7 separate regions of the Homo sapiens genome follow, and regions 2, 3, 4, 5, 6 and 7 are each linked to region 1. Evidence: promoter capture Hi-C in 16 types of primary human blood cells and fetal thymus (Javierre and others, 2016). All regions are on one chromosome and are shown on one strand. The core of a region is centred on a gene start or on the middle of the fragment in contact, and the rest is flanking DNA. Distances in the headings are between cores, read along the strand shown. Region 1 holds the start of SCARB2 (scavenger receptor class B member 2). Region 2 has its middle 19 kb from the start of CCNG2. Region 3 overlaps LOC101928864 (a long non-coding RNA gene). Region 4 has its middle 33 kb from the start of CCNG2. Region 5 has its middle 4.2 kb from the start of CCNI. Region 6 overlaps CCNI (cyclin I). Region 7 overlaps SEPTIN11 (septin 11).

Evidence for each region. The method cuts DNA at HindIII sites, captures the fragments that hold promoters and counts their contacts. A CHiCAGO score of 5 or more calls a contact.
Region 2: a fragment that was not itself captured here is called in contact with the fragment with the promoter of SCARB2 in region 1 in 1 of 17 cell types (neutrophils); the score reaches 5.9 in neutrophils.
Region 3: a contact is called between a fragment that was not itself captured here and the fragment with the promoter of SCARB2 in region 1, in 2 of 17 cell types (naive CD8 T cells and monocytes). The highest score is 6.0, in naive CD8 T cells.
Region 4: a contact is called between a fragment that was not itself captured here and the fragment with the promoter of SCARB2 in region 1, in 1 of 17 cell types (M0 macrophages). The highest score is 5.9, in M0 macrophages.
Region 5: a contact is called between a fragment that was not itself captured here and the fragment with the promoter of SCARB2 in region 1, in 3 of 17 cell types (naive CD4 T cells, non-activated CD4 T cells and naive CD8 T cells). The highest score is 6.5, in naive CD4 T cells.
Region 6: a contact is called between a fragment that was not itself captured here and the fragment with the promoter of SCARB2 in region 1, in 1 of 17 cell types (monocytes). The highest score is 6.1, in monocytes.
Region 7: a contact is called between a fragment that was not itself captured here and the fragment with the promoter of SCARB2 in region 1, in 2 of 17 cell types (M1 macrophages and M2 macrophages). The highest score is 6.7, in M1 macrophages.

The regions. Positions count from the first base shown.
Region 1 is chr4:76,212,317-76,215,741 of GRCh38, reverse strand. It overlaps SCARB2 (scavenger receptor class B member 2), which reads left to right and starts at 1,918. Exons shown (of 12, transcript NM_005506.4): 1 at 1,918-2,315. The coding sequence starts at 2,199. It also overlaps a transcript of FAM47E not described here. RefSeq lists silencers at 1,580-2,199, 2,113-2,517. The HindIII fragment of the contact is 5,631 bases long and covers 1-3,425 here.
Region 2 is chr4:77,174,543-77,177,967 of GRCh38, reverse strand. No RefSeq gene overlaps it. Among named protein-coding and RNA genes, the nearest start is that of CCNG2, 19 kb to the right of the region's middle. RefSeq lists enhancers at 2,214-2,860, 2,861-3,425. The HindIII fragment of the contact is 7,211 bases long and covers 1-3,425 here.
Region 3 is chr4:77,152,689-77,156,113 of GRCh38, reverse strand. LOC101928864 (a long non-coding RNA gene) reads left to right here. Exons shown (of 2, transcript XR_244659.5): 1 at 1-844; 2 at 1,138-1,360. Among named protein-coding and RNA genes, the nearest start is that of CCNG2, 2.8 kb to the left of the region's middle. RefSeq lists a silencer at 1,691-1,760. The HindIII fragment of the contact is 750 bases long and covers 1,197-1,946 here.
Region 4 is chr4:77,122,130-77,125,554 of GRCh38, reverse strand. No RefSeq gene overlaps it. Among named protein-coding and RNA genes, the nearest start is that of CCNG2, 33 kb to the left of the region's middle. The HindIII fragment of the contact is 927 bases long and covers 1,187-2,113 here.
Region 5 is chr4:77,078,432-77,081,856 of GRCh38, reverse strand. No RefSeq gene overlaps it. Among named protein-coding and RNA genes, the nearest start is that of CCNI, 4.2 kb to the right of the region's middle. The HindIII fragment of the contact is 2,424 bases long and covers 625-3,048 here.
Region 6 is chr4:77,059,693-77,063,117 of GRCh38, reverse strand. The region is part of intron 2 of CCNI (cyclin I); the gene reads left to right. Among named protein-coding and RNA genes, the nearest start is that of CCNI, 15 kb to the left of the region's middle. The HindIII fragment of the contact is 3,762 bases long and covers 1-3,425 here.
Region 7 is chr4:77,006,536-77,009,960 of GRCh38, reverse strand. All of the region lies in intron 3 of SEPTIN11 (septin 11), which reads right to left. Among named protein-coding and RNA genes, the nearest start is that of SEPTIN11, 58 kb to the right of the region's middle. The HindIII fragment of the contact is 941 bases long and covers 1,045-1,985 here.

The DNA.
Region 1 (3,425 bases), core at 669-3,168:
TGTTCTCTGCAGCAGTCTCCGGGTAGCTGAACTTAGGGGTGACTTGAGGCTCCAAGAGCAAGAATTTGCAAAGGCCCCAGCAGAAGTTGCAAGGCATTTATGATCTAGCTTCAGAAGTTCCAGGATATGGTCATTTCCACTGTATTCTATTGGTTTAACAAATTGCTAAAACCTGCCCAAATTCAAAGCGAGAAAGTATAGACCCCACCTCTCAACGAAAGGAGTAACAAATAATTTGCCACCATTTTTAAACCATCATGCTATCTCACCAAGTCCTCAACAAAGCCTCCTAACTGATTTGCTGTCCTCAGATTCTCATTAGTGACAGATCGGGATGCAGCAATGCGCAGAGTAGAAAAAGTGAGGGTTTTGGAAGCCAACAGCCAGCCCTACATCCTGGTTCAAGCAGGATCCACCACTCAGCAACCAGTTGAGCTTGTTAGGTTACTTAACTCAGAGCCCCAGTGTTCTTGAGTGTAAAATGAGGATAATACACTATAGTTGCCAAGAAAATGTACTTCTTGGATCTTGCAGTGTAGATAGCATAACTGACCAATGGCTCCGCCTCAACTGCTGAGCTCTGCTGAAATCCATACCCTGATATTTATCCCTAGGTTGCTGCAAAGGCCAGCTTCCTAAGGCTGCTCCCAGCTCATGACTGAGCACAGCAGGGATACTAAGGCGGGCCTCTTTCTGGGAGATGCCAGACTTCTGGGACAAGCCCATTTGGCTAAAGGATTCCCCACCCCAATGGCCTTGCTGAACTTTTTATACATGGACTGTATATATATCAAATGCTTCCTTCCACCCAACCTTCCTTCCTTGCTTGCCTCTTTCCTTCACAAGGATCACACCTGCATCCCAGGTCCAGCTCCCTGTTTTCCCTCAAAACTCTCTTGCATAGTACCCCCATCTGGGACTGTTTCTGGAGGACTGGGACAAACACAACCTCCTATTCATAGGACTGCCAAGGGTATTAAATGAGTAGAACTGTGCAAAGAAACTAGTAAAGGGCTGGCGTAGAAGAAACACTCATTTAACGAACACTTCTTGAGTCCTGGCTGTGTGCAGGTCTTGGTCCTGGGTGTCTGGGACACCACAGTGAGCAAAGCAGGCAAGAACACCAGCGATGCCTGCTTTAAGCTCCTTCCCAACTTCCACATCTTTAACAGGATACCAAGAGCCCTTCAAAGTCTGACCTCTTGGGGCCTCAACACCTCCGACTCCACCCCCTGAACACCTGAGCCTACAGTCAAAAGGAACTTCCTTCTTGCTTCCTACAGGTTTTGCTCTTTCACCCCCAATGCCTTTGCTCACCGTTTCCTTCTCCGTGAAATGCCTCCTCCTCCCTTTTTTGCACATCTTCCATTCTTGCACATGCCCCTTACGTGACAAACTTATGCATCCCCCAGGCCCCAGTTCAATGTGGGGCCCTAGGTCATCCAGGCAGAACATGCTTGCTGGCATGATCTCAGCAGGCACCTGGTAGAAGCACTTGCTACATTGTGTTGTAATTGCGGTAACGGTGTCCCCGCTAACTTGCGAGCGCCTCTAGAGCAGGGGAATGTCCCAGCCACCTTGAATCCCCAGCGCGTGGCCCATGGGAGGCCCTCAGACCTATCTGCGGAATGAGTAAATGAGTGTGTGAACCAGGTTCGGCAATTTCGGTGGGGCGAGCGCTGGGCCTGCGGTGCAGGGCGCTGGGAGCGGCCAGGCCGGGCCTGGCTCAGGCGCCGCAGCCACTCAGGGCCACCGGGGACCGGCCGGGGAGGGCGCGGGCCGAATCACTGCCGCCGCCGCAGGGCACATGACTGCGGCCTCCGCCCCCGCCCGCCTCCCCGCGCAGTCGCCGGCGGTTGCCTCGCGGGGTTGCGGCGAGCCCGGCCCGCGAACGTCACGTCCCTGCGCGCTCCCTGCACTCTCCCGAGCTGCGCTAGGCGGGCGCCACGGCTGCCCGGCGAAGGAAACCGAAACCGAGTCCGGGCCCGTCCCTCCGCGGCCCCATCCGCCCGGTGCACCCGGGGCCGCGCTCGCCAGGCCGCGGAGCCCAGAGCTGCGCGCACGAACCGTGCGCCGGGAGGGCGTGGGCGTGGCGCCGAAGGGTCCCGGGTCTTCGACGCCTCTGCGGCGGCTCCTCCCTCCTTGCAGTTGGATCCCTGGCGGGTGCGGCCCGGCCCGGCCCGTGAGCGGCGCACAGAATGGGCCGATGCTGCTTCTACACGGCGGGGACGTTGTCCCTGCTCCTGCTGGTGACCAGCGTCACGCTGCTGGTGGCCCGGGTCTTCCAGAAGGCTGTAGACCAGAGTATCGAGAAGGTGAGGCGGGGCGGGCTGTGTGTGTGTTGTGGAGTCGTCCAGCTCACCCTCCCATCCCTGCTGCTACATCTTGTATGGGAAAGACCAGCACTCAGGCAGACCCTCCGCGCTAGAGCTCTTCTTGCGTCCCTGTCTTCCAGGGCTTGGTAGGCGAGGGTTAAAGAAGGATGAGGAAGGATGGAGCCGACTCTGTTCCCTTTACAGTGATAAGTAAGGCTATGGATCCTGACTTTTAAAAAGGCCTTCGGTTGTGTTCTGTCGTTTGCATCTCTCCCCACTCCTTCCGTCTACACCCCAATCTCAGGTGGGCCCAAACTTGTTTCCTTCCCACTTCATGAAGAAACAGAACTGAATGAAAGACACCGCAGAAGAGGCAGGTTATGTTGTCTGCTTGCTGTAGCCTTTGAAGTGGTGTGCGCCTGGGGATGAGACGTGGGTGTGCGGTCTATTGTGTTCTTGCCCTCTTGGGCTGGGCAGGGGCAGTTGGTAGCTGGGCCAGTCCTTTAGGCTGGGTGACAATTCATCCATCAGTCTTTGCTGAACGCTGACTTAGTGGCTTTGTATCTTGTACCAACAGTCTGTGTTGCTTTGTCTCACCATGAATTCTTGTTTTTCTCAAACGGCCATAATTTTCAGGCACAGATGCATTTAGATACCCTACAAGAATCTGAACTTGTCTCTTCCTCTAGATGATTGGGCTGGAGAGCCAGTCCTTTAAGAAGACTTCATCTTTTGATTTCACTGGTCATTTCATCTGCCCTTTCCCCCACATCCACCAAGCTGTGTCAAAAGAGGAACAAAAGAGAATTACTGGGATCATTTTTTCCTTAAAAAAGAAAAATAATCACTGGAGCAGCAGCCTTTCTTGTTAGCATCCATAACTGCACGCTTCATTTCTCCCACTGGTCTGCACTTGCTGCGGCCAGATAAAAAAGCCCAGGCCTAGTCTACTTTGAATCACTGCACTCTCCAGTCAGTAAAGCTATTTTATTCCAGGTGGCAATGGATATCTTCCTTTAACTGAGTTTCCAAAAGTAATTAAGTGAGTACCTGAAATCTGGCAGTTAAAGGCAGTTTTTCAAAAAGCACCATGGCAAAGCATAATGTAAT
Region 2 (3,425 bases), core at 478-2,977, 960 kb before region 1:
CATTCTCTTTCAGTAAGAGGCTGTTCCACTCCGTGTGATAGATTCTAGCTCTGGGCTGGCAGAGCTGAGGTTCTCACCTTGAATTCTGGTGACCCCACAAAGGTGTGGTTACCATGAGCTCTGCCTCATGTCCAGCCAGCCTCCCTCTTTAGCATTTTAGGTCCCTCTCTAATTTCTTCAAGTTGATAAAATGATGCATATCTATTGAGCATAATTGCAGGTCTTGAATATAGTAGGTTACTTGCCCTCTAAGAGCAGACAATCTCGTTGGCTTCAACAAACCAGGAGTATGGCTTTTAAAGATTTTAAGAATTGGATAACTAGGTCTGCTTCTCTCTGTGCCATCTTTTTCATGTTTTTCTAACAGCATCAAGAAAGGGAAGAAAAGCAGTGTTGAGAGCCTGCTGGGGCTGGCCCTGGGTGAGCAAATGCAGTTCTCTCTGTGTGCCTCAGACAAAGGAGAAGCGTCTCTTGTAGGCTCATTTCATTCTTGCTTGAGCAGCCCTGTGTGTGTTCTCAGAACTCAGGGTCCTGGAAACTGCATAAAGGAGTCAAATCATTCAACCCCAAACAGGGCTCTTGCCCTAAGTCCAGACAACAGCTGTGAAGCAGCTGCACCATTGTGCTCTAAAGCTGCTTAGTGTAAGATGCAAAGGAAAAAAGGATTAGCCCTTGGAAACTATGTGAAAAACACAACCCCCTGCGACAACAGCTGGCAGGTAACATATATCATGAAGACATTTGCGGTATTAGAATGGATACATAAAAGATGAGAATTCAAACAGTATTTTAAAGTTTTTTTCCCCATGAAAGTTAATGCGCTCCAATCTTTTCAATTTAAGAAAATTAATAAGAAAAAAATGGAAAGAGAAGAACTACGGCAGCTGGTACAACACAGACATGGAGGCGGGTAAAATATGAGTCTGCCACCTTCACCTTTTCCCCCTCTCCAATGCCCCACCCGAAAATAACATGAAATGTTTCCCTGGAGCAACCAAAGATGAATGTCTGCTCCCCAAGCCAGGCCCCAAGTTCAGGCGCAGCACCACTTCTTAGAGTTGGCAGCTTTACTAGACTTTGATCATTCCTTCGTGGGACACATCAACCTTGCTCCTCCTTAATGTGCAAGATGAGGCAAGAGCCGAGGCCAGGCAGGTATAGCTGCAGGCAGAGCTTTCTCCAGTGCTGTACAGAAAGGCTTTTGCCTGCCCAGGCCCAAGGGGAGCCGTTGCAGTTGCTTGCCTCCCACATCCTATGGAAAGGAGTCCCCATGTTCTGGTGGCTTAGGATGTGTGTTTCTCAGTGGTGGGCGAGCTGGAACCTGGGACCAAAAGGTAGTCAGGCACTGCCTACTTTCTGAGCCCAGCTTTTGGGGTCTGTGCTTTTTCCTCCCATCCTTTTTAGTGACACCTTCCTCTGAATTCTTTAGGAATCGAATTGACCCCATTTGCCTTTCTGACCCTCCTCCCCCTTCCCCATCAAAATTACCTGTCAAGGAAGTAAGGAAACTGTCACTGAAAGGCATTACTGATGGGAATATAAATCTATATCCCCTTTCAGGGATGCAGGTCAACACAGTATACATTTTAAATGTACATTCTCTTGGACCCAAGATTTTCACTTCTAGAAATGCATCCTAAAGAAATTATTACCCAGGTAGGCAGAAATGTATGTGCAAGAATGTTTACTGCTGCTTTGATTTAAAATACTGAACAATTGTCAATAATACAGCCATCCATCAGAAAGAGATCAGTTAAATAAATTATCACGTAAGCATCCAACAAAACCCTCTTCAATCTTTAAAAATAAGGAAGTAGGTTTATATCTACTGACACTGATGTATGCCCCTGATATATTGTTAAATGAGGAAAGTGGGTTATAGAAGCATACATAGAGTAGGATCGTGCTTATACATTTTTTTAAAGTTTACATGTTTATACTTGCATAAAAAGAATGAAATGATAAATGTCATTCTGTTGACAGTAGCATCTCTGAGGAACAGTATTAGAGGCATTATCCACTTTCTCTATATTGCTTACATTTTTACAAAGGAGATATAGTAACAGAAAAATACTTTGATGTAGTTTTTTAAAACCTTCTCTAAGAACAATATATGCAAAGCCTTCACACTGACAACAACTTATATTTGCAAAGAGCTTCACAACTTTATTTTCCCCATTAACTTATTCCGTCTTCACAGCCCTGTGAGGTTGGGAAGATAGATCTTAGTATTTATTGTCAAAGATAAACAACCGTCCGTTAACGTGGTGAAAACAGATTTTATTCAGTAACTACTGAGAGTAAGAGAAGGAGCAGAGCTCAATTCTGATTTGTGCTGAGGTGACTGGGCGTTTTAAAGGGGAAGATGCGGGAGGAGGGAGGAGGAGCCTGTGGGACTCTGGTGAAGCCTTACAAACGGTTGGTGGGCATCACCATAATTAGGCCAGCTGCACGTGCTAGCTGGCAATTAACACCAGTTAGGAGCCAGGGCCCTATCCTTCCTGATAATTACATTTCAAAGGAATGGCTTTCAGATTCTTGAGAGAGACACTCCTGACTTGCAGGAGATACACATACATCTCAAAGAGACAGAGAAAGAATTCACAATTGTAAGCCCTGTTTGGTAAATGCTCTAAGTAAGGAGGTCAGGGGTCTATCTTCAGGTGTTGGCTGGAACAAACAGCAAATTCTTTTCACAGCCCTGAGCTTTTCCAGACAGGAACTTAAAAGAAGGCTAGGTTGCCCCAGGGACACAACCTTAGTCTGCTAGAAGCCGTGTTAAAGTTTGGTCAAGTCTGTTCGTGCAGAAGTTTGAAAGAAGCGTTTGTGCTGAAGGTTTTTGGCATTCTGAGTACCCTTTTTTCAGCTTAAAAAACTAGTTCTCGGTCGGGCGCAGTGGCTCATGCCTGTAATGCCAGCACTTTGGGAGGCCGAGGCGGATGGATCACCTGAGGTCAGGAGTTCGAGACCAGCCTGGCCAACATGGTGAAACCCCGTCTCTACTAAAAATACAAAAATTAGCCAGGCATGGTGGTGGGCGCCTGTAGTCCCAGCTATTCAGGAGGCTGAGGCAGGAGAATCGCTTGAACCCAGGAGGCAGAGGTTGCAGTGAGCCGAGATTGTGCCATTGCACTCCAACCTGGGCAACAGAGCAAGACTCCATCTCAAAAAAAAAAAACAAAAATGAAAACAAAACAAAACAAAAAAAACAAGAAAACTAGTTCTCAGAGAATTTACATGATGTGGCAGCTGGGAGGTGTGACACACAGATCTCCCTTCCAGGAAGATCTTGCCATTCCACCACCAGGAGGGCAGCAGCTCCCAGTCACCAGCTGCAGCATCATCAAACCCCACCTCAGCGTTTGAGCAGAAGCCAAGCTCTTCCTGGGTAGTTTTCAGCTTACAGCCTCCCCAGCTGCGAGGAA
Region 3 (3,425 bases), core at 322-2,821, 940 kb before region 1:
TAAATTATCATTTATTGTTCATTATAATTAGCGTTGTTATTATAGGCGACACGTCTCCCAGGACGGGACAAAAAGCAAACAAACCAGGTGCCTTAGGCCAGAGACACTTTCACACGGAATATCAATGGGGCATGTGGTTGACTGCCCTGGAACATTTATTTGTTTACTCTCTCCCTCCTAAATTAGAAAATACCATATTCGTGAGTTCTAATCTACATAATCAGATAGTCCCTGGGAAGAGATTTCTCCTTTCTGTTCTTCTATGTGTTTTCTGTGAATTATTTTGTTACTTGTGAAATATGGGAAGGCACACAACATAGCTTTGGCAGCGCTCTTCTTTGCGGAGCAGCTAAGGAATTTTAAAACTAGGTCCCTTTGCATATTAGCTCGGACTAAACACAGGCATCTGTTTGGAGCACAGAGCAACTGGGGGAAGGCAGCCCAAAAAGCTAACACTTATTTCAGAGAGGTGTGAGCTTGGTGAGGGTTTTGGAAAATAAGATAAAATTAGCACACCAGTTTTAAATGATTTACAGGCTACATAATTTTATCCAATGCTTGTTTTATCTTTTAAACATTAAGTGATAACTTTTATTTGACATAATCATCTTGCTGGAAATCTATGCTGATAAACATAATAGGAGCATGAAACTAACTTAGAGACTAGAGCTAAGATTAAAATTACAGAGATGACAGCTCATTGTACAGAGCATCAATAGGCTGAGTGGACAGGGCCCACAGACAGAAAGCAGCTCGACCAACTATCCACCATCAGAGAAATGAAGAGTTTGTGATCAAAGCATGAAGGAGACTGGGGATGTTTTTTTCAAGTAAGAAGGCAAAGGTAAAAAAGGAACATACGTTATTTTATAAGTGATGTGAAAGAGGAAATGCAAATTTATGTGGTAGAAGACTTTAAAAATAACAGACTATATAAAACAAAAAGGAAAAGATTTAGAAATTGTCCTTTGCTTAGGCTACATAATTTTATCCAATGCTTATCTGATCTTTTAAACATAAATAAGTGATAACTTTTATTTGACATAATCATCTTGCTGCTTAGCACTAAATGATATGAAGCTATACTAAATGTGTACTCTATATTTCATAACTGGTATTTTATGTGTCCTTTTACAGACAGCCTCTTGAATGATGTGAACAGTGATGGCTTTCTCTGAGAGTAAGACAAGAAAGCTTTGTAAATGGCGTTGAATTTCCTGCTCTTGGCAGGCCCTGCTCAGCACAGAAGAAAAGACTGATCAAGTTGTCCAAGATGGAGCCCTTTATCCACGTTAGTCCACTTATCTCTTTAAGATTAAAGGAAAGCAATCATTAAAAATACAGATCCAGTAATTATTAATACAGCATCCTCTTTTTTAAACACCTCATTTTAAGAATGATGATATTCTTAGGAAATGGGCTGGGGGATTATGTAGGTTTTCTCTGTTTACTTTGCAGAATTTTTTGTTTGTTAATATATCTTTTAAAAAAAAATTCTCCTCATTCTATTTGTCCTTATCACATTGGCTTACCTTGCCGGAGCTGAAAGTGTTATTTATGAAAAAGACATTATTCCCCTTAGGCTAATCAGGCTTTACCCATTAGCCTTTCCTGAGCTTTCTGGAAGGCAAATTTCCTGTATCATGCACACATACAAAATAAGGAAATCAGAAACTTGGCAGCCCCCAAGAACTTCCAGACAATTTAAGATACTTGGTTTTCTACAGCATGTGGTAGGGGTGCAGTGGGGTTGGGTGATACTGTCACCAATAACCCCATGAAAGCCTGATGTGCAGCCCATTGTCCTCAGTGACATGTGAGACTGAAACTAAAAGGTGCTCACAGAATGGGTAATAAGCAGGGAGTGCCCACACAGAAACACTGACTACATTCAGTGAATCCCTGACTCCTGACAAGTGTGCTGCAAACCTGCTCACACTTAAGCTTCTACCTTGAAAATAGGGCACTCTCATGGGACAGTTGCAGTGCTTCCCTAAATGACTTAGACTTCCCTGAACTTCATAAGGCATCAAAATTGCTACAATTTTCCAAATATCATCTTTCTCCTCAAAGATATGGTTTTTGACAATAAATCCTAGCTTTTTATTCAATCGAAATTTAGTGAATACACACTGAGTGCCAGGCATGCTACTAGGCACCAGGAATACAAAAATACATAAATAAAACAAGGCCCCAGCATATACCCTGGTATGTCTGAGGTGTAGGGCAAAAGCACTGGCCATGGATCAAACTGGCTTTGTGTCTCAGCTTTCCTACTCATTAGAAATGGTGCCTTGAATACCCTGAATAATTCCCATGGTCTTGAGCCTCAGCTTTCTAAACTGAGGAAAACAAAAAGCCAGAGGTAGTTGTGTCTGCTTCATATGTGATGACTGAATACAAACATTTGTGAAAGCAACTAGCTATATATTTCTAGGCTGCACCATGTTGTGACTTCATGAAGGGAAAGGAAGGGATCATCCCTAACCTCATCAAAGAAGTCTGGTGGAAAGCAGCCCTGAAAGGAAAGAACCTGAGGATAAGGATACGTAAAGCTGACATGAGGCCATACTCCCCCTCCCCGTCTACTCACTATTGCTGGGTCCCTGCCTGGGCTGTTTTCTGTCATTAGGCTGAGCACAGTGGTTCATACCTGGAATCCCGGCACTTTGGGAGGCTGAGGTGGGAGGATCACTTGAGCCCAGGAGTTCAAGACCAGCCTGGGCAACATAGCGAGACTTCATCTCTACAAAAAATTTTAAAAATTATCTGGGCGTGGTGGCATGCACCCGTAGTCCCAGCTACATGTGAGCCTGAGACAAGAAGATTGCTTGAGCCTGGGAGGTCTATGCTACAGTGAGCCATGATCATGTCACTGCACTCTGGCCTGGGCAACAGAGCAAAACCCTGTCTCAAAAAAAAAAAAAAAAGTGGTTTGCAGCCCCAAACTTCCTGCTTAGATAAGTCTTGCTTCACAGAACCTGCAATGGAGACAGGAATGCCTCTCTGAGGAAGAGAAACAGGGAAGGTATAGCATAGTAGCATAGGGTGCTATCTTGAAGTAATGCAGATTTTTCAACCAAGAGCTCATTTTTAAATCAGAACCTGGAAGAATGAGATGATTTATATAGCAGATGATTAATCTCTGTCTTCAAGCAATCAGCAGAATAAGTCAGTGAAACATCTCATATATTCTCCTTTCTGATTTTCCCACAAACAAGACCATCTCAAATTTGAAATCAACATTTTACAATCCATTTACTATATATTTTGTTGCTTTTGTTGTTAATGCTAGAAGCATGCCCTGTTTTTTTGGAAGAGTGTTTATGCAAGGGTTGGCCATATTCATAAACATTCATAGTGTTTATCTACGTAGGGTTGGCTTTGGAATTGTGGAAATTATCCACACTGTAGACACCATCTGA
Region 4 (3,425 bases), core at 401-2,900, 910 kb before region 1:
TCATAACCATGAATTATACCAGGCATTTACCTCATGAATAATCATCTGGCTCCATCAGAGCTGACAAAGTTTGGACTTGGCAGAAAAAATAAAACAATTTAGAAAGAGAGTTTCTGAAGTTGACTCTGCATGTGTGTTTGTATTTGCACTCTGAGTGTAAATAACTGCATATGTGATGTGGGAGGAAAAGCTGGCATGGGGGAGGTGGAGATAAATAGGTATGAGATACTCTGGAAGCAAATAAACAGAATATTCACAGACCTCTAAAGATAAATCTTCCCAGCTGGGCACGGTGGCTCACGCCTGTAATCCCAGCACTTTGGGAGGCCAAGGGGAGCGGATCACAAGGTCAGGCGTTCAAGACCAGCCTGGCCAACATAGTGAAACCCTGTTTTTACTAAAAATATAAAAAATTAGCCGGGCGTGGTGGCAGGCGCCTGTAATCCCAGCTACTCGGGAGGCTGAGGCAGGAGAATTGCTTGAACCTGGGAGGCGGAGGTTGCAGTGAGTGGAGATCGCGCCATTGCACTATAGCCTGGGCAACAGTGCGAGACTCCATCTCAAAAACAAACAAACAAACGAAAGATAAATCTTCCCTATTTCCAAAAATTCCCTACATTGTTGTTTATTCTCTCAGGGACTAGCTAGAAATCAGATTCCCCTCTTCAGATATTGAGGCTCAAAAGATAACATTTATTGGCAAGGATGTGGAGAAAAGGGAACCCTTGAACACTGTTGGCAGGAATGCGAATTAGTACAGCTATTCTAGACTATGGAGGTTCCTCAAGAAACTGAAAATGTGACTACCATATGATTGAGCAGTTCTACTTCTGGGTATACATGCAAAAGAAATTAAATCACTATCTTGAAGAGATACCAGCAATCTCATGTTCACTGAAGCATTATTCATAACAGCCAAGACACAGAGTCAACCTAAGTGTCCATCGACAGATAAATGAATATATATACTTATATATGAATGCAAATGAATACATGTTGGAATACACACAAGTGGAATATTTCCCAGCCTTAGAAGAGAAGGGAGTCCTGCCATTTGCAGCAACATGAATGAACCTAGAGGACATTCTGCTGAGTGAAACAAGCCAGTCATAAAAAGATAAATGTCATATGATATCACTGTTAACTCAAAAGTATCTAAGGCCTGTCTCAATCAATTTAGGAAGCTTATTTTGCCAAGGTTAAGGACACACCTGTGACACAGCCTCAGGAAGTCCTGGGGACATGAGCCCAAGGTGGTTTGGGTACAGTTTACTTTTATACATTTTAGGGAGACATGAAACATCAATCAATATGTGTAAGATGTATACTCGTTCAGTCCAGAAAGGTAGGACAACTTGAAGTGGGGAGGGGTTCTAAGTTATAGGTAGACAGGAAACAAACAGTTGCATTCTTCTGGGATTTTGATGAGCCTTTCAGTGAATACACAACTTACATGTGAGAGGGGGTAGAGGAATTGTCATTTAAGCCTTAGTCTGGCTCAGTGAATCTGGATTTTTACATAAACAATGGGACAGAGGAGGCAAATCAGACAGGCATTTATCTCAGGTGAGCAGAGGGATGCCTTTGAGTTCTGTCCTTTTTCTTGCTCCTGTGAAGATAAGCCGTCAATTTACATTGCCAAGGTGAAATTCAACAGAACTGTTTTAGGGTAAAGACCTGGTGGCCCACAGGTAATCTCCTTCTGGGGAAATTGTGAGGGAAGTATTTAGCTTTTTATCTTTGTAGCTATCTTACTTAGTAATAAAATGGGAGGCAGGTTTGCCTGATGCAGTTCCCAGCTTGACTTTTCCCTCTGGCTTAGTGATAAGTCCCAGATCTATTTTCCTTTCACATCACTTACATGTGGAAGCTAAAAAGTTGCATTTATTGAAATAGAGAGTAGACGAGTGCTCACCAAGGGCCCAAAGGTTGGGGAAACAGGGAAGTGTTGGTTAAAGGGTACAAAGTTTCAGTTCTGCAGGATGAATAAGTTCTGGAGACCTAATGTACAGCATGATGACTATAGTTAACAGTAATACATTATATACTTGAAATTTGCTGAGAATCAATCTTGTGTCCTCACCCCTAAAATAAAAAGGTAATTATGTAAGCTTATGGATATGTCAATTACTTTGTGGTAATTATTTCAAAACATGTATGCATATCAAATCATTACATGCCTTAAATATCTGTACTTTTTTTTGTCAGTTTTACCTCTGTAAAGCTTGGGGGGATAAAAGAAATTGATGCTCATTGGCGAGAACTCCTCCACCATCCTCATTACCTTTCTGGACTGAACCAATATACATCTTACACATATTGATTGACGTTTCATGTCTCCCTAAAATGTATAATAGTAAACCGTACCCAAACCACCTTGGGCTTATATCCCCAGGACCTCCTCATTACACAGCGGCAAGGTCAGATGGGGAGTTCCACTACCCCACTGTAAATGCCCAATGGATTACCCTGCCCGCTGCCTAGACAGAACCAATTTATCAAGACAGGAGAATTGCAATGGTAAAAGAGTAATTCACGCAGAGCCAGCTGTTTTTATTATTACTCAAATCAGTCTCCCTGCGCATTTGGGGATCAGAGTTTCTAAAGATAATTTGGCAGGCAGGGGCTTGGGAAGTGGGGAATGCTGATTACTCAGGTAGGAGATGGAATCATAGTGGGTCAAAGTTAGATTTTCTTAATGTCTTTTGTTCCTGGATATGACGGCAGAGCTGGTTGGGCCAGATTACTGGTCTGGGTGGTGTCAGCTGATCCATCAAGTGCAGGGTCTGCAAAACATCTCAAGCACTGATCTTAGGTTTTAAAATAGTGATATTATCCCCGGGAGCAATTTGGGGAGGTTCAGACTCTTGGAGCCAGAGGCTGCATGACCCCTAAATTGTAATTTCTAACCTTGTAGTTAATTTGTTATTCCTGCAAAGGCAGACTGGATCCCAGGCAAGAAGAGGATCTTTTCCGCAAAGGGCTGTTATCAATTTTGTTCTGGAGTCAAACCATGAACTGAATTCCTTCCCAAAGTTAGTTCAGCCTACACCCACCCAGAAATGAATAAGGACAGCTTAAGGGTTAGAAGCAAGATAGAGTTGGTTAGGTCTGATTTCTTTCACTGTCATAATTTCCTCAGTTATAATTTTGCAAAGGCAGTTTCACCATCTATCATACCACTGCAGGTCAGATGGTAAATAGGTTTGGGGAAAGGAAAGTTGGTTCCTGCTGGCTTCTTCCTTCTCTAGCGTGGGAATCTTACCAACTGAAAGACTTAGATCCCTTCCGTATGTCATCCTCACTCTCCAAACCCTCTCCTTTCTTAGCCTCTAACTTGTCTCAGAGAACTTACTGATACAGAATGGCTGGGCTCCCGGCTAAATCCCACCCTTAAGCCTGGAATGCTGCAGTCCTAAGTAAAA
Region 5 (3,425 bases), core at 587-3,086, 870 kb before region 1:
TGTCGCCTCATCTGAAATCAGCATATTCCATGGAAGAAGGAGTCCTGCTTTTGTTGCATCTTCTATCCTAAGGTTTAATGTTGGTAAATGAGTAACTCTAGCATTTGTACAAGGTTCCCTAAGACTCCTGCAGCAGTCGACCAAGCCCAGGGACACAATTGAATCTGGAGATTCCTGGGGCCTTGTTTTGAAAAAGACTTGAAATACACATAGGAAGAAAGGCACAAAAATAAATGTTCACTTGTCTCTTAAAAAAAAAAAAAAAGGCAGCTTGAGGCTTCCTTGACTTATTCCCTCTGAGCACTTTCCCCACTTAATATTAAGGAGGAGGTCTTTATATTATTTGGTGAATGGGGACTTTTTTTTCTCTTAATATCTTGATGCCAAGTTGGTTTGGGACATTTACTCCTCTTACATTCTATCTCTGTATAGATAAATGAAAAATATTTTAGAAGTTGTTAAAAGAATCCTAAAGTGTGGGCAGATGCTAAGTGATTATGACAGTAAATAATTTCCTTTGTTCTTGTAGGCTTTAACATCTCTCCTACAAGATAGTACCTTCATAAATTGTCTTGTGGAAACATTATCTAAAAATTTCATTTAGGACAAAGGAGAATAGAAGCTTCTGTCATTAAACATGAAACAGCCTTGCTTTCTTTACTCCTAAAAATGTAGGCAGTATTTCTAGAAATATTTAATGATAGCGAACCACTTCCTGGCCATCAATTTGATTCCCTTCCATTTTCCTAGACTTCTGAAGAGGTCTCACTTTACACTATTTTGCATTACAGAACAGTCTTTATACTTCCTTTTTTTTTTTTTTGACACAGGATGTCACTCTGTCGCCAATGCTGGAGTGCAGTGGCGCTATCTCAGCTCATTGCAACCTCCGCCTCCCAGGTTCAAACGATTCTCCTGACTCAGCCTCCAGAGTAGCTGAGACTACAGGCACACACCACCATGCCCGGCTAACTTTTTGTATTTTTAGTAGAGATGGGGTTTCGCCATGTTGGCCAGGCTGGTCTCAAACTTCTGGCCTCAAGTGATCCACTCACCTCAGCCTCCCAAAGTGCTGGGCTTACAGGCATGAGGCATCACACCCGCTCACTGTCTTTATTCTGATAGCTGTTTCTCATGTGCTTCCTTATGCTGCTCCTCTTTGATTTGAAGCAAGGTATAGTTTAATTTCAAGATTTAATATTCTAGTCATGAAATAAAACAAGTCTGAAATCCTTTTCCAGTAAAAATCTACTCTTTAGACACACAAATAACTGCATATTAGATTTTTAAAAATATTTAAGATTAAACACAAGCCAAAAATCACCACAAGGTGACTATTTTTGTCCTAAAATTTACTGCAAGCCAGAAACTTCTAAGGGAGAGGCAGTAAAGAGTAGTGATTAAAAACATACCATGCTTTGGAGATAGTCAACCTGGGTTTGAATCCTGGCTGTGCCCCTCTAAGCTATGTGATGAATATTGGGATTTACTTTACCTCTTTATCTTTTGTAAAATAGGAACAACAAAAATACCTACTATAGAGGAGTGCTGTGGGGATAAACACAAAAGAATGCAATAAAAATGCTTAGTATAATGTTTGCTACATAGTGAGTGATCAACATGTGTTAGTTATTATTATTCTCTCTCTCCTTTTTTTTTCAGATACAGGGTCTTTCTGTGTTGCCCAGGCTGGTGCAAACTCCTGGGCTTAATGATCCTCCCAGCTTGGCCTCCCAAAGCAATTACAGGCATGAACTACCACACCTAGAAATGCCGTGTAGAATGGTAGTCTAACTTTACTATTTAGAATTACTAAATAGAAGTTATTTACCAATACGCGGATAATATGTTCTCTTTATATATCTTATTTATTTTCTCAGGGAATTTCATAAACTTTCGATTTTTTACAACTACAATTAATTGTAAAAACAATTATTAGTTATTAAAAAAAATATGGCCTGGCGCAGTGGCTCAAGCCTGTAATCCCAGCACTTTGGAAGGCCGAGGCAGGTGGACTACCTGAGGTTAGGAGTTCGAGACCAGCCTAGCCAACATGGTGAAACTGTCTCTACTAAAAATACAAAAATTACCCAGGCACGGTGGCACACCTGTAATCTCAGCTACTCGGGAGGCTGAGGCAGAAGAATTGCTTAAACCCGGGATATGGAGGTTGCAGTGAACTGAGATTGCACCATTGCACTCCAGCCTGGGTGACAAGAGAGAGACTCTGTTTCAAAAAAAAAAAAAAGTGAATTAAAGTATGGTCTTACAAATGGATACTGAAGAACAAGAATGTCCATATTGGCTGTGCACAGTGGCTCATGCATGTCATCCCAGCACTTTGGGAGGCTGACGTAGCTGGATTGCTTGAGCTCTGGCATTCGAGATCAGCCTGGGCAACATGACAAAACCCCGTCTGTACAAAAAATACAAAAGTTAGCTGGGCATGGTGGTGCACACCTGTATTCCCAGCTAGTTAGAAGTCTGAGGTGGAAGGATCGCTTGAGCCTAGGAAGTTGAGGCTGCAGTGAGCTGAGATCGCACCACTGCAACCTGGGTGACAGGGTGAGACCTTGTCTCAAAGGAAAAAAAAAAAAGAAAGAAAATATCCATACTTTTTGTTCAGACAACTGCAACTAGTTACTTACCCACCTATTAATTACTTGTAATTATATTTATAGTAGATTAAATTGTCACTGGCAATCTCATAGGCAGTAAGATAGTTTTAATAAGGATAAGTATATAATTAAATGGGAGCTCTTAAAGACTCCTGGTAACATTTTAATTGGTTTAATCTTCTGCCTTGCAACTGGCAACTGGTATTCAGTAAAAGCCATAAAAACATAATATTGTTGGACCTAGGAATAGCCCCAAAGAGGTTATGAAGATGTTAATTGAATTATTTTTGTTTTTCATTTTTTGGGTAGCAGCTTTATTATAATTCAAACACCATAGAAGTAATACATTTAAAGTGTACAATTCAATGGTTTTTAGTACAGGTTGCATATCCCTGATACAAAAATCTGAAATGCTCCAAAATCCAAAGCTTTTTGAGTGCCAACATGACACTCAGAGGAAATGCTCATTTTGGATTTTCAGACTAGGTTGCTCAACCAGTAAGTATATAATTTAATGCAAACATTTCCAAAACTGAAAAAAAAGTTTAAAATTCAAAATACTTCTGGTCTCAAATATTTTGGATAATACTCAACCTAAATATTCACAGTTGCGCAACCATCAACACAATCAATCTCAGAACATTTTTCTCACCTCAAAAAGAAACCTTCAAAAAATCAGTTGGGCATGGAGGCATGCGCCTGTGGTTCCAGCTACACAGGAGGCTGAGGCAGGAGGATTGCTTGATCCTGGAGGTCAAGGCTACAGTGAGTCATGTTCACACCATTGCACTCCAGCCTGCAGCCTGG
Region 6 (3,425 bases), core at 489-2,988, 850 kb before region 1:
ATGCAGCTGTCACTCACCTTCTATGTGTTTCTGCCACACTCTGCTTCCCTTATGACAGCACAAAGTATTATAATTTTCTGGTGATTTGACTGTGAGTTTCCCTGAGGGGTATGGTGGTGTCATTTTTGTTTACTTGCATATAATAGACTCAAAGTAAGCATTTAAGTGAATGGTGATTATCATTTCTTTATGATTCATTCAGGTACCTTACTGTGTTCTTGGCACTTGCAGAGAACTTCTTTTATATTATGTAATAGTACTTTCAAGTTCATGATAATTTTGTTACATGAATTTGGGGAAAACATTGAAACTGGTCAAAGTGGCACATACTTTCAGATGTTCTCAATTTATTTTGCCAAAGTGCTTTTGATTTACAAAGATAAAACCCTGCCACAAATTGTTGATATACAGATGATTTTCAGTAGAATTTTAGAACTCTAAGGAATCTTAAAAAGAGGTTGTTAACAGCTTTTCTAGTCATTCTCAACTGGAGTTTAGATTTGCTGCTTCCTACTTCATCAAAGCCAAAAGGAAAAATTTAATTTTTTTTTTTTTTCTGAGACAGGGTCTTGCTCTGTTGCCCAGGCTGGGGTGCAGTGGCTCCATCACAGTTCACTACAGCCTCTATTTCCCAGGCTCAAGTGATCCTCCCACCTCAGCCTCCCAAGTAGCTGAGGTAACAGGCACGCACCACCATGCCTAATTTTTTTATTTGTGGAGATGAAGTCTCACTGTGTTACCCAGGCTAGTTTCAAACTCCTGGGCTCAAGCAGTTTTCCTGCCTTGGCCCCCTACAGTACTGGGATTACAATTGTGAGCCATGCCCAGAAATTTAATTTTTAAAAAAATGTTGAACGTTTAACAGGTGTAATGAGATGCTGTGGGAACATAGGAAGGTACTCAGCCCAACTTGAATTATCAGGAAAAGTATCTGGCGGGGAGTAACATCAAAATAGCTCTCAAGAGATACATAATAAGGCAGGTGAGAGAGAAGGGAGTGCGTTCCAGTCAGTAGGAGCAATATGAACAAAGGAGCAGTAACGTAAAATACCAGGGGCAAGGAAGGATCATCAGTAGAAGTTACTATTACAGCATGAAGTTTAAGACAGAAAGTGATGGAAGATGTCCGAGGTTAGAGAGGTAGGTCATAGCCGGGCATGGTGGCTTGCACCTGTAATCTCAACACTTTGGGAGGCCGAGGCGGGTGGATCACAAGGTCAGGAGATCGAGACTATCCTGGCTAACATGGTGAAACCCCGTCTCTACTAAAAATACAAAAAATTAGCTGGGTGTGGTGGCGGGTGCCTGTAGTCCCAGCTACCCAGGAGGCTGAGGCAGGAGAATGGTGTGAACCTGGGAGGCGGAGCTTGCAGTTAGCCAAGATTGCGCCACTGCACTCCAGCCTGGGTGACAGAGCAAGACTGTCTCAAAAACAAAAAACAAAAACAACAACAACAAAGAAGAGGTAGGTCATAGATTTGTATGCCATGCTGGGGAATTGTACTTAATCTTTTAGGTAATGGTGAACCTTTTAGAGTTTAAAGCTGGGGAGGTTGTATATTTTAAGGAGAAGACTAGCAGCATGTGGAATATAATATATATACAGAATATATATTAATAGCAGTCTATATTTTACCATGTTTGATCAATCCATTATAAATTCTCTTTAGGATTATTTGTTCAACTACTGAATCCTTCTAATCCTATTTAAGCAGTCCATATGAGAAACAGTTCACCTGATGGAATCAGGAAATACTGTTTTGGGCTTTTTCTTTTTCTCTCTCATTCTTTATTTTAGAGGAATAGGAATGAAATGAATTAGGCGCAGAACTTACTATTTGTAATGCTGTCATGATGATATTACTGTTTAGTACATATTTGAATTGATTTGAAAAAGTGACCTTAGACTCAGTATTACTTCAGTTAAATTGAGTCTTCTTAAACTGTTATCTTTTGGATTTTAAAAAAATTATTGCTGGTTTTGGCTAGTGATGATAACATTGGCTATGCAGGAATGCTTTTCTTGGCCCTGTTGTTAAATTTTACTATCTGGTATATGGGCCAAACATAGTGGCTTACACCTGTAATCCCAACACTTTGGGAGGCCGAGGTGGGAGGATTACTTGAGCCTGGGAGTTGAAGACCAGCCTGGGTAACATAGTGAGACCTCGTCTCTACAAAAAAGTAAAATTAGGCCGGGCGCAGTGGCTCACGTCTGTAATCCCAGCACTTTGGGAGGCTGAGATGGGTAGATCACTTGAGGTCAGGGATTTGAGACCAGCCTGGCCAACATGGCGAAACCCCATCTCTACTAAAAATACAAAAATTAGCCAGGCGTGATGGCACAAGCCTGTAATCCCAGCTACTTGGGAGGCTGAGGCAGGGAGAATTGCTTGAACCTAGGAGGCGGAGGCTGCAGTGAACTGAGATTGAACCACTGCACTCCAGCCTGGGTGACAGAGCGAGACTCCATCTCAAAAAAAAAAAAAAAATTAGCCGGGCCTGGTGGCACGTACCTCTGGTCCTAGCTACTTCAGGATGCTGAGGTGGGAGGATCACTTGGGGCTGGGAGGTCGAGGCTGCAGTGTGCCATGGTTGTGCCACTGTACTCCAGCCTGGGTGACAGAGCAAGACCCTGTCTCAAAAAGTATATGGAATATTAAAGTTCAAAGATATTGTCATGATTTCTTTCATGACTAATTGTTAACAGTGTTTAAAATAACTTCATAGATAATGTTTTGTAAATTTGTTTTTCTGACATTATTAGAGAATTGGGTAGTTTAGAGGTGGGAAAGGAGAACTAATATTTGAGTACGTTTGCATTCCATATATATGCTTTACATTAGTTATGTCATTTAGTTATAACTATATGATAATCTCCATATAACTGTATTCTCTTTTTTTGTATGTTACCTTTGTGATTCTTCTTACAATTGTATGTTTCTGTTATTGTTTAATGCCAAACACCAAATAGTGACATTATTTAATGTAATCTGTCATTCAGGGATTTTTTTTTTTCTCCCATACCCCACATTGTATCTCTAACTGAAGGTTAGAGTTAATGGTGTTCTTGTTTTCATAGCTACTGTAAGTCATCGTTCCTTTCATCTCCCTAAAAGCCTTCCCAGTTTCATCAGATTATAACATCACCTACCTCTCCTGGGAATTTATTTCCTTGTTGATGTGTTTGGCTGGCTTAGTTAACATTACTTTTCCTTATTTGTTGTGGCATTTTGGATAAAAGCTCATCTTGATAGGAATTTAATTTCTCTTGAATGCTTAACTCTTCATCCAGAAGTCTTGTGATTGGCTTTACTTGGTTCTCAGGGATTTTTATGGATCCTTAGTCCAGAACTAGATCTTAAAGTAGCCTGGATACAGAATTACAGCTAGATATGAGGAATAACTTCTAGTGTTCCATACCA
Region 7 (3,425 bases), core at 266-2,765, 790 kb before region 1:
GTTCTGCTATGGAGCTCATGTCCAGTAGGGAAGTAGAGCAAGCCACTCCAGTGAGGTCCACCCATGCCCTTTGCCCTTTGAGTCTGGGGCTGATCCTTCTGTCTCCTGACACTGAGGCAGATTTGGGGATTAGGGCTCTTCCCCAGCAGCCTCTTATCCCAAAGGGTAAGAGAAGCAGCTCACAGCAATTGCTCCCCTGCCTCCCCTGTGTCTGATTTTTAGCTTTTAGCACCTCCTCCTCTCAATAGTAGTCCAAATATGGTTCTGTTTTCTATTAGTTTCCCTTCTTGCCTCTGGTTTTGATTCTGATCCTCCAAAGATAATGAGAAGCATAACAACACTCATTTTGCAGTGAGGAATGCTTTCCCCACTGGATTCAAGATATCTTTTGTTCTCTAATATCTCAGGCTTCCTTCTACCTGTTCTTATTAGAGAGTCCTGGCCAATCATTCAGTCTCCCTTCTTTTCACTCTATGTATTCCCTCTAGAAAATCATACTCATTCCTGTGTTCCACTCACCATCTATCTGATGACAAGTCATAAATCTCTACCTCCAACCCAGATCTTTCCTCTGAGCTTCAGACCCATCCACAATTGGTTATCCTATATTTTCAACTGCTTCTCCAACTAAATATGTCCAAAACTGAACTATTCATCCTGCCTTCAAACCCTCACTTTCCCTGTATTCCTTAGCATGGTGGGCCACCACCCACACCACTGGCCAAGTCAGAAACCTGGGATTCAACCTGGAGCCTCCTTCTCTTATGTCATACACATAATAAATATGAAATCCCATCTACTTTACCTTCCATACCATTATTAACCAATAAAAAGAAATGTATTCCTGGACAACAATTTACCAAAACCACTATTCCCTATGTCAAAGATTTAATTATGCTGATGAAATAATTTCTTCTTGATGAGACTCAAGCCAGCCAAGTGGTTTTGTACTCCTCATCATCATCCTGTAGATGAGATGAATTATCTGCCTCTTCCTCCAAATCCTTTCCACTTCTCCATCTAAAGTGAGAAAGATAGGAAGCTTAATCCCAACTTAGCCTTTTGCTAGCCCCATTCCTACTAACACTTATTTATATTTTTTTTGCCAATTAAAACTTCCCTGAATTGTGGCCATATCAATCAGAGGAAAGACAGGAGGACAAATCCAATCTAGCCCTTACGTTTTCACATCATTTTCTTTTAAGGCATGGAGATATTCCTTGTTACACAGCACTCATTTTTTTTTCCATATACCTCCAGCCATAAAACATACACACACACAAAAATGACAGAGGCTAACCCTAAAACCGATGGAAAAAGATACTTAGACAATGTGATCCATCCATCCAACCTACCCACTGATCATTCTTGCAAAATGGCCAATGCCATCATTCAGGGACTGACTTTCCACTTCATATACGACCAAATACTTACCATGTTTTTCCCTTATCTTGCTGTCTGTTAGCCAATTTTCCTTATCCCTTGACTACCTCCACCAGAAAGTGTGATTAAAAACTTAAAATTTAAAGGCCAAACAGTCCATCTCACTACTGTTTTATAACTCTGATAAAGATTTGGTGAGGTTGAAATTCCGTCTCAGGGGATTTCAATTATCTCTGCCTTTGAGGGCTAACTATCATTACAGCTAGTGATACGCCATGGACAGCTCACCTCCCATCTCCCCAGTGTGGGGCAAACTAATTATTCTATTTCCAATTGAACAACAAAACTTGCTTTCCCTTCTTCCCCAGGCCCCTTTCTTTCTCCACTGAAGAGTACAAACAGCCAAAACAAGGAAGCCCTTAAATAACAAAGAGTGAAATGTGCTTTTAAACATAACAGGAAACCTTACCAGATCTCTCTTCCTGCCTCCTTCTAGCTAGCCTGGTCTGAGGCAGATAATAATACAGGAATGTTGACATGTCCAAAGCCTACATAAACAAACTGGGACATTCTTGAAGTCTTGCATCTATGGCAGAAAAGCTTGCCTAATCCCCAAAGTAGGTAAAAATCAACATGGGCATAGAGAAATACCACATCCCTTTCCATATGGTTATATATTGATGCAGAAATGAATATCCCACTTCCAGTTTCTTGAGGGAGGCAGAGCCTGTCCAGATAACAATTTGTGAACAAGTAATTTGGCTTTACAGTCAACAGTGTCAACAATACCTTCTGAGGCACAGGGTAACAGAGAGTTTTAAGTGCCATTTAAAGAGGTTATGCAATAGCTGTCAAGAAATTTCAGAGGAAAAAAAATATTTGGTATCTAGGTTAAGTTAATATCACACTTCCTCTCTTCTAAATCTCCTTGGAAACTATTATTTGACCCAAATGAGTCAGATAATTTCTTAAGGAGGGCTCCAGCTGCAAATATGAGGATATGCATTGTGCTAACTGTTTGCTGCTGAGTGCTGATTGGGGAGTGAAAAGCCACCAGCAGCCCGAGGGAAAGTCCCAGTTTAGGGGAGAGGCAAAAATTGAGTGGCAGCACTGTGGCAACCCCAGTGAGCTGGAAGAGCACAGGGAATCTCAGCAAGAGGCTATGTGGAGGATGGTTCTCATTCCTTGGGGGAGGGATCCTGAAAAAGTACAGTTGCTGTCTTCCAATCAAGGAATGGACAAGCAAGATTTTTCCTAACGCCAGTGAGAAAATCTATACCAGTCTGAGAGATGGAGAACAGGCCTTGCTCTGGGTATATTCTGTGAGTATGCAATGATTGAAACCCCCGGCTCTCTTCCCAGCTCCCACAATGCACTTGTGCCCCTTTCCTTATGACCAGGCCTTTCTCTTCATTTACTGCTCTTGGCATTACAAACAGCCTTCAGGCAGGGGCCTCTCCATCATTCCCTGTCATTGAGGTCATATATTAAGAGCAACTGCTCAGCTGCAGTGTCAGAGCTGAACTTGTTCCCTGCCCCAGCACAATGTACAGATAGTCCATTTTGGTATGCAAAATAAAATCTTTCTCACTCTATCTACCAATTGTTCCTGTTATCACGGGACAATGTCTACTGAAGAGCATTTAAAGTGCTTTGTAGATAAAATAAAGAGCTTGGTGCTCAGCTAAAGAATGAATTAAACATTTATCTGTCATTACTGTGGTGCTCATACTTATATCAGGCATAGATAAAATATATCTAGGCATTTCTAGATAAAAATAGTCGAGTTCCTCTTTACAAAACACATGTGTATAATATACAGTTTTGAGGAATATGGGGAAAAAATCCTGATACAAGCAAAGTGTCTGAGCTGTAAGCAAACACACCCTAACTTACTGATTTGTTGTTCATGTCTACATGTTGGTCACACTAAGCAGGTAGACACTTATGCCCATAATGTTGTAACTGCTCAAAGATGTTTCTGGAAGCCCCATTCTACAATCACCTTTGGACCTGGGGCAGTTTTATTTTAACTTTCTCAA